3 separate regions of the Homo sapiens genome follow, and all the other regions are linked to region 2. Evidence: promoter capture Hi-C in 16 types of primary human blood cells and fetal thymus (Javierre and others, 2016). All regions are on one chromosome and are shown on one strand. The core of a region is centred on a gene start or on the middle of the fragment in contact, and the rest is flanking DNA. Distances in the headings are between cores, read along the strand shown. Region 1 overlaps BEAN1 (brain expressed associated with NEDD4 1). Region 2 holds the start of DYNC1LI2 (dynein cytoplasmic 1 light intermediate chain 2). Region 3 overlaps CDH5 (cadherin 5).

Region 1 (3,494 bases), core at 654-3,153, 300 kb before region 2:
CCAGTTTTTACTTCATGTTTTGGGGGACTTGTTAAGTGCATATATAATACATATATAGTTTTTATATCTTCCTAATATGTTGACTTTTTTGTCATTATGAAATGTCTTTGTCTCTAGAAATATATATCTTGCCTTAAAGTCTATTTTGCCTGATATCAGCATAACCACTCAAGCTGTTTGTATGCTATATCTCCTTCCATCCTTTTATTTTCAAACTATTTGTGTCTTTGAATCAGGTGTGTTTCTTGCAGTCAGCATACAGGTAGGTCTTGTCTTTTTATTTACTCTGACAATCTCTGCCCTTTAAGTGGAGTTATTAATCCATGCATACATCTTCCTTTTCTTTCTTTCTTTTTTTTTTTTTTTTTTTTGCTTTGGGTTTGGTTTTTTATTTTGTTATTTTTATTTTTTCCTGAATATGGATCATACTTTATAAGACAAAGAAACAAGAAAGTGTGATCCATTTGGATGGGCTCTTTCCAACAGTAGCAGGGAAGCTGCTGGTTTTCACAGACTGGGGAGCAGAGCTGGTGGGGAGGGGTATGGAGGCAGTCATAGGCAAGAACATTACAGGTTCACACTGTGCTTACCTGACATTCAGTCTTTTTCATACTAAGTGCTTCTCAGTTCGTTGTATGCCTTTGATCAATTTCCAGGAACTGCAATGGTACTTTGACAGTTTTGTCTAGCTTTATAGTTGCATGTATGGACTGCTAAATTATCTCCCTTAATCCTCACAGAAACACTCTGAGTGGTCATTACTCTTTTACAGATGAGGAAGCTAAGGTACGTAAGTATTAAATACCCTGGTCAGTGTCACTAAGCCAGGCTCTTAAACACTGCATTTACCACTTCTGGGTACATCCTCTCCCAGTAGCTTTTAGAGCAATGCAAGTAACACCCCCAAATCAGGATGATTATTCACAGCTACAACAGCAAGTAATGTAATGGTGACCTGCACATACCATAAGTTGGCTCATTCTCCCAAATCTGAATCACAGAGGGAATTTGTAAATTGGCTGTGTTGAATGATGCTAACTAGCACCAGAGAGCCAAAGAAGGAATGATTTCCTTTCCTTTTGAAGTTGAGCTACAGAGTGTCCCTGAGCTTCCTGGAGGCCAAAGCAAAACAGCAAAGTGGATCAGTTACATGATTCTCATGGTCTATGAGGAGAAAGTAGCTCTTTTGGAGAAAGAAAAGCTTTCCCTGGCCCTCATATCTTGGAGAAATTTATTACATGAGCCTTACCTAGGGATACTGAGAGGTATAGTGGACAATACCTGCAGCAACACGCTTATAATAAAGCTACTTTTTTTTTTTTTTTTGAAACAGAGTCTTATTCTATTGCCCAAGCTGAAGTGCAGTAGTGCAATCACAGTTTACCACAGCCTTGACCTCCCAAGTTCAAGTGATCCTCCCACCTCAGCCTCCCAATTAGCTGGGACTACAGGCACACGCCACCATGCCCAACTAATTTTGGTATTTTTTTAAGAGTCAGGATTTCACCATATTGCCCAGGGTGGTCTTGAGCTCCTGCGCTCAAGCAATCCGCCCACCTCAGGCTCCCGATGTGCCGGGATTACAGGTGTGAGCCACTGCTCCTGGCTGTGATAAAGCTACTTCTTAAGCTAGTCCCCTCAACACAGGCTCTGAGCATAAGGCAAAGCCCAACTCCAGGAAGCTCATTCTTGGGAAGGAGGCTCAGTCACTGTGGCCTAGGAACACAGCTCTAGGCTGGTTGAACTTGTTCCAAGGACTAAAACCTTTACTGTGCAGAGCAGCCTGTGGATGACATGGCCTTCACACAATCCTTTGTAAATATTCTCTCTCCCCTGGGTGGGATAGCTGATGAAAATTCGCAGCATTCATGAATTTAACATTTTACATGTCAATTATTCACTAGCTTCCTGGAAAGTCCATATTATAGTCAAAGGTCATTTTTCTGAGCCATGATTTTGAGTAGCAAAATGCAAGCTGGGGTGTGGGAGCAAATCCCCTAGCCGGTAGGTGGGCCCAGCCAGCCCCCCAGAATCTGCTTCTCAACCCAATTCCACTGTCTCCTACTTATCAGGCATGCACAGTAACTCCACTGGCATTATATTATATATATAAAAGCCTCTGGGCTCTTTGTGGAAAATGGCCCAAGAGCCAACTCTAGATGGTGATGGAAGAGAAGAGAATATGAGCAGGTTGAGTCCAGTCATTATTCTAGCAAGAAAATGAGAGCTTGGTGTGGGTTCAAGTGGAATGTTTAATTCTAATGTGGCTTGGTTCTGTGATGTCAACCAGTTTGCCATTTGCTCTGCAGAAATAGGGAAAAGTAATTTGTGAAATTGTTTCAGTGAGTTTTTCAGCCAATAAATAAGTTCTTCTTTAAGCCGGAGTTAAAACCTTAGTGAATGATGACAAGGTGGTAAACTTAAGGAAGTTAGATACGCAGAGGAATATGTGCGTTACTCTTAGTGAGTTTATTTAAATAAACTTAAGTGGCAGAATGTATCTTAATAGTGGAATGAATTGCTTTCATCTTACATTTATAGAACCATTAAGGGTTTGTGGGTGGTCACTTGTATTTTTCCAGTTACGTTTTAACACAATGGTTGAAAAGCTTCTATTTGGCAGTAAAGTGCTCTCCTGTTCACTCTGACACATTAAACAGATGGAAGCAGAGGTGGGAGCAGGGAACAGTGCCAGGGCAGCTGTGTGGGACCTCTTGCTTTCCCCAGTTTGAGAGGTCCATTTTAGTCTGATTCATATTTGTGTTCCCAGTGTCTAGCATATATCCAGGCATGAATTAAGTGTTTGGTGAGTATTGGTGAGGGGATGGGTGGATGGATGGATGAATGACGGATGGATGGATGATTAATGGATGGATGGATAAGTGAACGATTGAGTGGATGTTGAGTAGATGCATAGATAGGTAAATGCCTGAGAGGATGGATGATTTGCTGGCTGGGTGAATTGATGGAGGATTGTTGAATAGGGACTGATGAATAGGTATATGACTTCACCTTCCATGTCTCCTGTCCACTGTAATCTGCCCCGCTCCCAATGCCACAAATGTCAGGTGGCATGGACCATGACAAGACATTAGTTGACTTCTTGTAGAGATGCATCCTCATTGTAAAAAGTAGTCTGAACACCAAGTATCCTTTTCCTCACCCCATGATCCAAATGTTCAGCTGCCATCAAGGTGACATCCTACAGACTCACCCCTCTGTGTTCCTGCCCATGCTCTTCTCTCCCTTTACTGATCCTGATATGCTTAGTTCATCTTTCGAGACCCAGCCCTTCTGTGTCCTCCTCTCTGAGATGTCCCTGGCCTGTCCCCAGACCTCCAACATCCCTCTATCAGTCTCCTGGTGACCAGAGGACAGATATCAGCAAGTGAGCTAAAAAGTTGCCCAAAAAAAAAAAACAGCAGCAGAGGAGACTCAGAAGTATCCAAACCAATGAGCCCTGCCCTGCCATGTCCCCTCCCCCAGCCCTTCTT
Region 2 (3,411 bases), core at 731-3,230:
GTAAAAGGTAGGGTTAGTTTCTCACAAGAAAAAGTTTCACCACAAGAAAAACAAGAAATCTTCAAAATATGATACAATTAACCTAAAAGTCCAGGTACTGTGAACTAAAAAAAGTCTGATCCTGCTTCACAATGGTGAAGAATGGAAGTTATTCACTTTTGATTTTAGTACATCTCCTTCACAAACATTCTGAAGGCTAAGAAACTGACGAAAATAATTATAGACCTAGCAAAACTCTTCAGTACAATCTCAGTTAATTATTAAGCACTTCTTCATCTCCCTCCACCCAAACAACACCCCCCTTCCCCGGATCCTTAAACATCAAGGAGAACCATCGCCAAACATTACTAGGCACTTCTGCCATTTAATAATATGGAATTACAGAACATGAGAATTGAAAGGCAGTCAGTCCACAGATCAAAGACCTCCTCTCCATCTCCAATGCCTCTACCTTATTCAGGCCCTCTGCATCCAGACCAAGGTGAGGACCTGTCAGCCTGACTTCAGTACCTGCTCATTTTGAGCTACTGTCCCTCTGCAGGCAGCGTTCTTTCTAAAACTCAGATCTGGTGATCTTGATCCCCCACTTCTTGAAGATCTCTAAGGGTCCGGTATTACCTACCACAGTCAATTCCTGAGAAAGGTCACACATTCTAACAGTAGGAAAACTACCAAGGCAGTGATTCCCATGGGAATTGGGGGATGGAGGTGAGATAAAAGCCATTTGAAAAATCAGAGAACTTCAGGAAACAGCACTAACTCTTCAGCCTTCCCACAATCTGCCCCCAACTTACCTTAGCAGCCACCAACCACAAGGCGCTTCTAGCAGTTTCCAAACCCCACACCCTCTTGTCATCTGTGTCCCTGCATACTGACACTTTTCTGCAAAATACTCAACCCCCGAATCATCCTCCTTCACCAGCTCTAAGCAGTGTAATGCTTCCACAATAATCGGCATGGTGCAATGCAATCACCAATACATCTGTCTTCCACCAGACTGAGATTCTTCTATAGTGTTTAAGAGTCGCCTATGCTGAGCCTGTGCCCAGCCCACAGGTCCCAAGCAACAAATGGACTTGCTGTGTGAATGTACCCAAACTCCCTCACTTGAGGAGAGTGAGGCCAGAGGGAGTAAGGGACCTGACTCAGGTAACCTAGCAGTGAGGGCTAGCATAATGGAGGAAACGTCCCCAGTGCTGACTCTCTGTCCTCTGCAAAGTCCCTAAAACCTCGGACTATGCACTACTGATGAGGCTCAAAGAAGGCTCCCGTGGTCATTTCCCCACAGCTCCGAGCCCAGGTCACCTCGTTCTCCCACCTTCTCCACCTAATCTCATCTACTAGCTTCCCCTCTCCACGACCTCAATTTGGTAACCGTCGAGGCAATGAAGGCATAGAGGGCCAAGTGACTGAAACAATATGCCGACAACCCCAAAGCACCACTACGCTCTCCAAAGAGGGCAGCATCCCACCCTCAGGCGCTGGAGGCTTGACCACTCTCCAGCTGACCGGCCAGGGCCGACGGTCCCTTTCCCGCCAGGCTGCGGGCAGGCGGCTGGAACGGGGAAGGCGGGGACCTGAGGGAGGGGCGCCCGCCTCGCCCACCCCAGCGACCTGGGGCAACGCCCCGCCGCCGGCGCTCACCGAAGACCAGGATGTTCTTGCCGGACGGCAGCTTGGACCTGGCGCGGGTGGACACTTCGCTCAGAATGGAGGACCTGTGGCGACAATGGCAAGAGTGGTCAGCCCCGGGCCGGGCTGGGATGGCCCGGCTCGCGTCGGCCCCTCAGTGTGTCCGACGGTCCGGCCCAGAGGCCGCGCCCCCCACGGCCCGGCCCGACCGCCCGCGGCCTCACCATAGGCTCTGGCCTTCCTCCTCCTCACTGGTCAGGTCGCCGGCGGCCGCCACCGCGGGCCCGTTGGGACCTAGCAGCAGCTTCTTCTCCACCCCCACCGGCGCCATCTTGCCAACTGCAGCCACAAAGAGGGCCCTCCCCCGGGCCCGCCGAGGACCCGCGAGGACCCGGGCCGGGCCGCCCCCCGCTCGCCGTCCCTCGCGCCGCGCCGCCCGCCGACCTTGCCGCGGCGACTGCGCCGCCCAACGTGTCCTCTAGGTCTGCGATGGCCACGGGCTCCCACGGGTTGCGAGGCCGCCGAGGTGGCGGGCGGCGGTCAGGCAGCCGCCGGGGCAGCCATGCGCGGGGAGGCGGTGGCAGGGGCGGGCACCGTCCGGACCGAGGGCGCGCTGGCGGCCTCTGCCGGCTGAGGGGCGCAGCGCAGCACCCCGCCACGCTCGCCGATTCCCCTGCGCCGTCGCGGGTCGGGCAGCCGGATGACCGACCCGAAAGCCTAGGCTTTGGGAATGAGACTGATGGACACAAAAGCGCCATTTATCTAGAGCTCACCATGTGCCAGAGTCACACATTATCTCACTGAATCTTATCTAACCCTTTCACAGATGAGGAACCTGAAGCTCAAAAAATTTAAGAAACCCACCCAAGGACCCAAGGCTAGAAGATAACATTCGGTACTTCTAATTTATTCCCCAACCTTGGACCATTATATCATGAACTTGGCCTAACCCTACTCAAGCCCTGCATTGAAAGACTAGCCTTAAGGAAGACCCCAGAATCCTCATAAATATCCTGCATTTCCCCCTCCTCCTCCGAAGACTAAAGACTGTGAAGTAGTGCTCTTGACCGCAGTGCATAATACACTTGGCTTTGCTTTATTAACATGCTTTTTAAAATGATGTTTTCAGGGAGCCAGCATTTCACACCAGAAGAGGAGCCCTTAATTTCCTTGGGGGCCAGCTGGCAGGTGCAGAGCGGGGAGAAAAATAAAAGGAAAGGGGATGGAAAAGGGAAAGAGCGGAGAGTAACCGAAGGAAAAACATACATTCCATTATCAAGCTTAATTTTAGGTGTGGCCTCTACTTGAGGGCTCTTGCCATTCTCTATGGAAACAGGCTAACAAGACATTTCTAAATATCACAAGGAAGTGGAATGTGGCAGAAAAGCACCACCTAAGTAGGTTTCAGATGAGTAGGATTGTGATCCTGATGCCAAAAAATCTGGCGGCATGAATTACGGGATAAAACAAATGGGCATATCATCTGCCAAACTGGATGTAAGGTTTAAACAAGACGAGAGTGAAAACCCACTGAGTTCCTCCCTTGGAAATCTGGGAAAATCAGGCAAAGTGCCAGAAGTCCTAAAAGGGCAAGCAGTGCTGAATTTTCACAGGACAGAAGATGGAGATGAAAATTACAGGCCAGTGAGCTTAATCAGCACTAAGTGAAATTTTGTGATTAAACACTAAAGGAAAAGAGAATACCAGATTTACACAGTATCTTTCTTTTTTGCAGGAGTACCAGGTAGGCGGATGCTGCAGATACAGCAAATGCAGATT
Region 3 (3,716 bases), core at 690-3,189, 360 kb before region 2:
ATGAGAATGATAAGGACAATCCGGCCTGGATGTTCCTATGCCTGCTGGTCTGAGGCCAGGACTCAGAGAGGGGAACTGGCTTCTCCTAGCACTTACAGGGAAAGTGACAGAGGCAAGACCAGAAGCCCAAGCTCTTGCACTTGGCAGCCTGGCATCTTGACCTGCCTGGACTCCCCCACCTAGCATGGTCCTGGGCATCCAGAGCTACTTGTCCTCTGTCCGGCCTTGAAGGCTTATTCTCTGCACCACAGCTCTCACCAGTCCTATGTGGTAAGATCTGACAGTCAAGAAAGCAACCAATCAGACGACACACCAGAGGCCCCTTCACTAAAACTGTATTCTTGAATCTATCTTCCCCAAACCACAAAAGTAAGAAGTGTTCATTTTATACAGTGAAACAACACAGAGATCTACCAAGAAAACACTGATAACCCCCACTCTCAGATAACTCATGTTCGTGGCCTAACCTGGTCCTATTGCTCCTTTCTTTTCGTGACCACACAAACATGTGGATGCATTTATGGTGGGTTTGTTGTTGTCTGTTTGCTTTTGATGTTTGATTGTTTTAAAATTTTTTTGGATCATGCCATGCTGGTTTCATCGATATTTGCTCTTCTATCTTAACTAAATTTCTCTTTTACAATCTTTAGAAAAAAATGATATAGTTCCAACAGATACTTTTTAGAGCCATATAATATGCAATAGTAAGTATAAATTCAATTCAATCTTATTTTATTGTAGATGCATAGCTGATTTTGCCAGCACCATTTACTAAATATTATAATAATAAGTCATCGTTTTCCCACCTTCATTATATACTAAGTTTTCTGTATATACCTGTATCTACTTCTAATTCTCTGTCCTATCCATCATTCTATAGCAAAGCTATTCTGTTTTATTCTACTAGCTTGTATAAGTCCATTCTCCTATAAAGAAATAGTTAAGACTGGGTAATTTATAAAGAAAAGAGGTTTAACAGGAAGTATAGTGGCTTCTCCTTCTGGGGAGGCCTCAGAAAACTTACAGTCCTGGGGAAGCAGGCACGTCTTACACGGCCAGAACAGGAGTGGGAAGGGAGTTGTTACACACTTTTCAACAACCTGGTCTCATGATAACTCACTAGCTTGAGAACAGAACCTAGGGGATGGAGCTAACCCATTCATGAGAACTCTGTCCCATGGTCTATCCACCTCCCACCAGGGCCCACCTCCAACACTGGGGATTACATTTCAACATGAGATTCGGTGGGGACACAGATCCAAACCATATAGCTTTACACTAGATCTTAGATATACATAAAAGTCCTTCCCATGTTGCTTTTTTATTTGATATAATTTTTTGTCAACTCTCATTTTTTCTTTTGTGAAATTTAAAATTTTGTATCCAGGTTTTTTAAACATTAGAATTCTAGTGTTTATATATTAATTTTGGTATAGCTAATGTTTCAAGGGTATTAAGTCTTCTTATTAAGGACAAAATATGTTCTTCCATTTTGGCCTCATATCCTAAGTTTTGGGACTACTCTTCATTGCCATTCTTTTCTAAATAGCCTGTAATTATAATTTTTGTTTCTCCTTTGATCCAAGGGTTTATTTAAGAGATTGACTTGATTTCTTTATTTTCATTTATAAGTCATAGGGTGTTTTTTTTGTTTTGCTTTAGCTTGTTCTGTGATGTGATACAATTGTATTTGTGTCCACTTCTTCCTAGAATATCTAAGTTTTGACTTTATGTATTTAAATTTTTCTATTCAGTTAACAAAGGTTTGCAACTATTTTACCTTCATTATGGTTTGTAACTTTCATCCAAATGTAATTAGCCAATTTGTTCTGCTTAAATATTTTGCCTTTAATTCTGTTTCCTGATGTTACATTTGTTAGTCCTGTTTTCATGTTATTCATATACGCCTAATGCAAATTTTACAACCTTTACTTTTAATTTTTCCAGGTCATTTGGCATTAAGTTGTCTCTTGAAAACAAGAATGCATTTGGCTTTGCTTTTTAATCTAAACTGAAATGCTTTGTGTTTAACCTATTTACATTTTTCATCATAATTGATATGTTTGATGTTCCTTCTTTTATCTTGTTTTACATTTCTCATTTATCAAATTTAATGGCTTTTTTCTTTTTCCTCATCTTTGCTATACAGTCTATGTTTCTTTATTTTTTTTTTCTCCTAGATATTTGGATGAGGTGCATCCATTTTTATTTCTACCAGTGAGATTTACTTCTATCTGCAAAATTTAAAATGTTTTCTTGGACCTATATTTTCTAGTTAAAACTATTATAGACATACACACACCCATTGCTTTTCTATGTATGATAAAAAAAATCAATAGTTTTGTTTTAATTCTTCCCATGCCAGGTTTTTACTTTATATTGAGATGTTTAGTTAGATACAGTAAGTTTTCAAAAAAAAATTCAGGACACAAATATCTTAGTTCTTTGCCTTTTTTGGGGGGTGGGGGGGACAGGTTCTTCCTCTGTCACCCAGGCTAGAGTGCAGTGGCACAACCATAGCTCACTACAGCCTTGAACATCTAGGCTGAAGCAACCCTCCCACCTCAGCCTCTGAGTATCTGGGACTACAGGCACACACCACCACACCAGGCTAATCTTTTTTTTTTTTTTTTTTTTTTTTTTTTTTTTTTTTTTTTTTTTTGGTGAGACAGGGTCTCACTCTGTCACCTGGGCTGGGCTGGTCTTGAACTCCTGGCCTCAAGCAAACCTCCAGCTTCAGCCTCTCCCAAAGCACTCAAATTACAGATGTGAGCCACCATGCCCAACCTTGCCTTCTAATAACACCTAGATGTATTCGTATAATCCTCAGATTATAAACACTTCCCTTCAAAAATACTATCAATGTATTCTAGTATTTAATTTTGTGGGGGCATCTGAGGCAAATCTGATTTTTCTTTCCTCATAAGGAAATTATTTCTTTCTGTCTGGACTCTTTTCAGTTTCTTCACACAGCCTTGAAATTCGTAAGTGTCGTCAGGATTTGCCTAAGTATTGGGGTTTTTTTCAATGATGCCTGATGTCAATGACATCTTATAATGTGTAGACTCAAGCCTTTCTTCAGATCAGGAAACTTTTCTTTTCTTTTTTTTTTTTTTTTTTTTTGTTATTTCTTCTGTTCTGTTTGTTCTGGGATTTTCCTCATTAATAGCAACTATTATTCCTATATACACAAAACATATATATTTATCTTTCCATAGATTTTTCCTGATTTCTGAAAGAACTTTTTAAGTTTTTTATTTCACAAAGTTAATTTCTTTGTAATTACTTCTTATCTCTTCCAGCTCTTTTTGTATTCCTTCCTGGCTCTTGCCCAATGATCTTTTCATTAATCACTAAAACAAGTCCCAGCTATGGTGTGATGTCACCTGTTCAGCTCTGAAAGTGCATCTGATGGTCTCAGGTACCACCTCCAGTCCAGTGATGGCAATGTAACTAAGATCAAAGACATTATCTTGCTATCCTGAATCCCTCTGTGTAGGTCCACTCTTGTCTGAGTGGCAGAGTGCAATGAGCAGTGAGAGAGGGGCATGGAGTGGGATGCAGGGGACAGATGCAGAAGGGCCTTGTCCATCATGCTGAGGAGTGTAGACTCAGCAAAGAACAATGGAAAGCCATGAAACTCTCTCCCCTGGGCAGATACTCCATCCGCAGGACCAGTGACAAGGGCCAGTTCTTCCGAGTCACAAAAAAGGGGG

What was found. The method cuts DNA at HindIII sites, captures the fragments that hold promoters and counts their contacts. A CHiCAGO score of 5 or more calls a contact.
Region 1: a contact is called between a fragment that was not itself captured here and the fragment with the promoter of DYNC1LI2 in region 2, in 2 of 17 cell types (naive B cells and total B cells). The highest score is 5.9, in naive B cells.
Region 3: a fragment that was not itself captured here is called in contact with the fragment with the promoter of DYNC1LI2 in region 2 in 9 of 17 cell types (total B cells, naive B cells, fetal thymus and 6 more); the score reaches 8.4 in total B cells.

What each region holds. Positions count from the first base shown.
Region 1 is chr16:66,454,379-66,457,872 of GRCh38, forward strand. All of the region lies in intron 2 of BEAN1 (brain expressed associated with NEDD4 1), which reads left to right. It also overlaps the pseudogene LOC107984807. Among named protein-coding and RNA genes, the nearest start is that of BEAN1-AS1, 20 kb to the right of the region's middle. The HindIII fragment of the contact is 1,408 bases long and covers 1,200-2,607 here.
Region 2 is chr16:66,749,629-66,753,039 of GRCh38, forward strand. DYNC1LI2 (dynein cytoplasmic 1 light intermediate chain 2) reads right to left here and starts at 1,981. Exons shown (of 13, transcript NM_006141.3): 1 at 1,857-1,981; 2 at 1,645-1,718. The coding sequence starts at 1,963. It overlaps DYNC1LI2-DT (DYNC1LI2 divergent transcript), which reads left to right and starts at 2,124. Exons shown (of 2, transcript NR_133569.1): 1 at 2,124-3,272; 2 at 3,368-3,411. RefSeq lists a silencer at 1,609-2,408 and an enhancer at 1,622-2,337. The HindIII fragment of the contact is 3,643 bases long and covers 1-2,910 here.
Region 3 is chr16:66,392,402-66,396,117 of GRCh38, forward strand. It overlaps CDH5 (cadherin 5), which reads left to right. Exons shown (of 12, transcript NM_001795.5): 8 at 3,658-3,716. Among named protein-coding and RNA genes, the nearest start is that of LINC00920, 14 kb to the right of the region's middle. The HindIII fragment of the contact is 9,921 bases long and covers 1-3,716 here.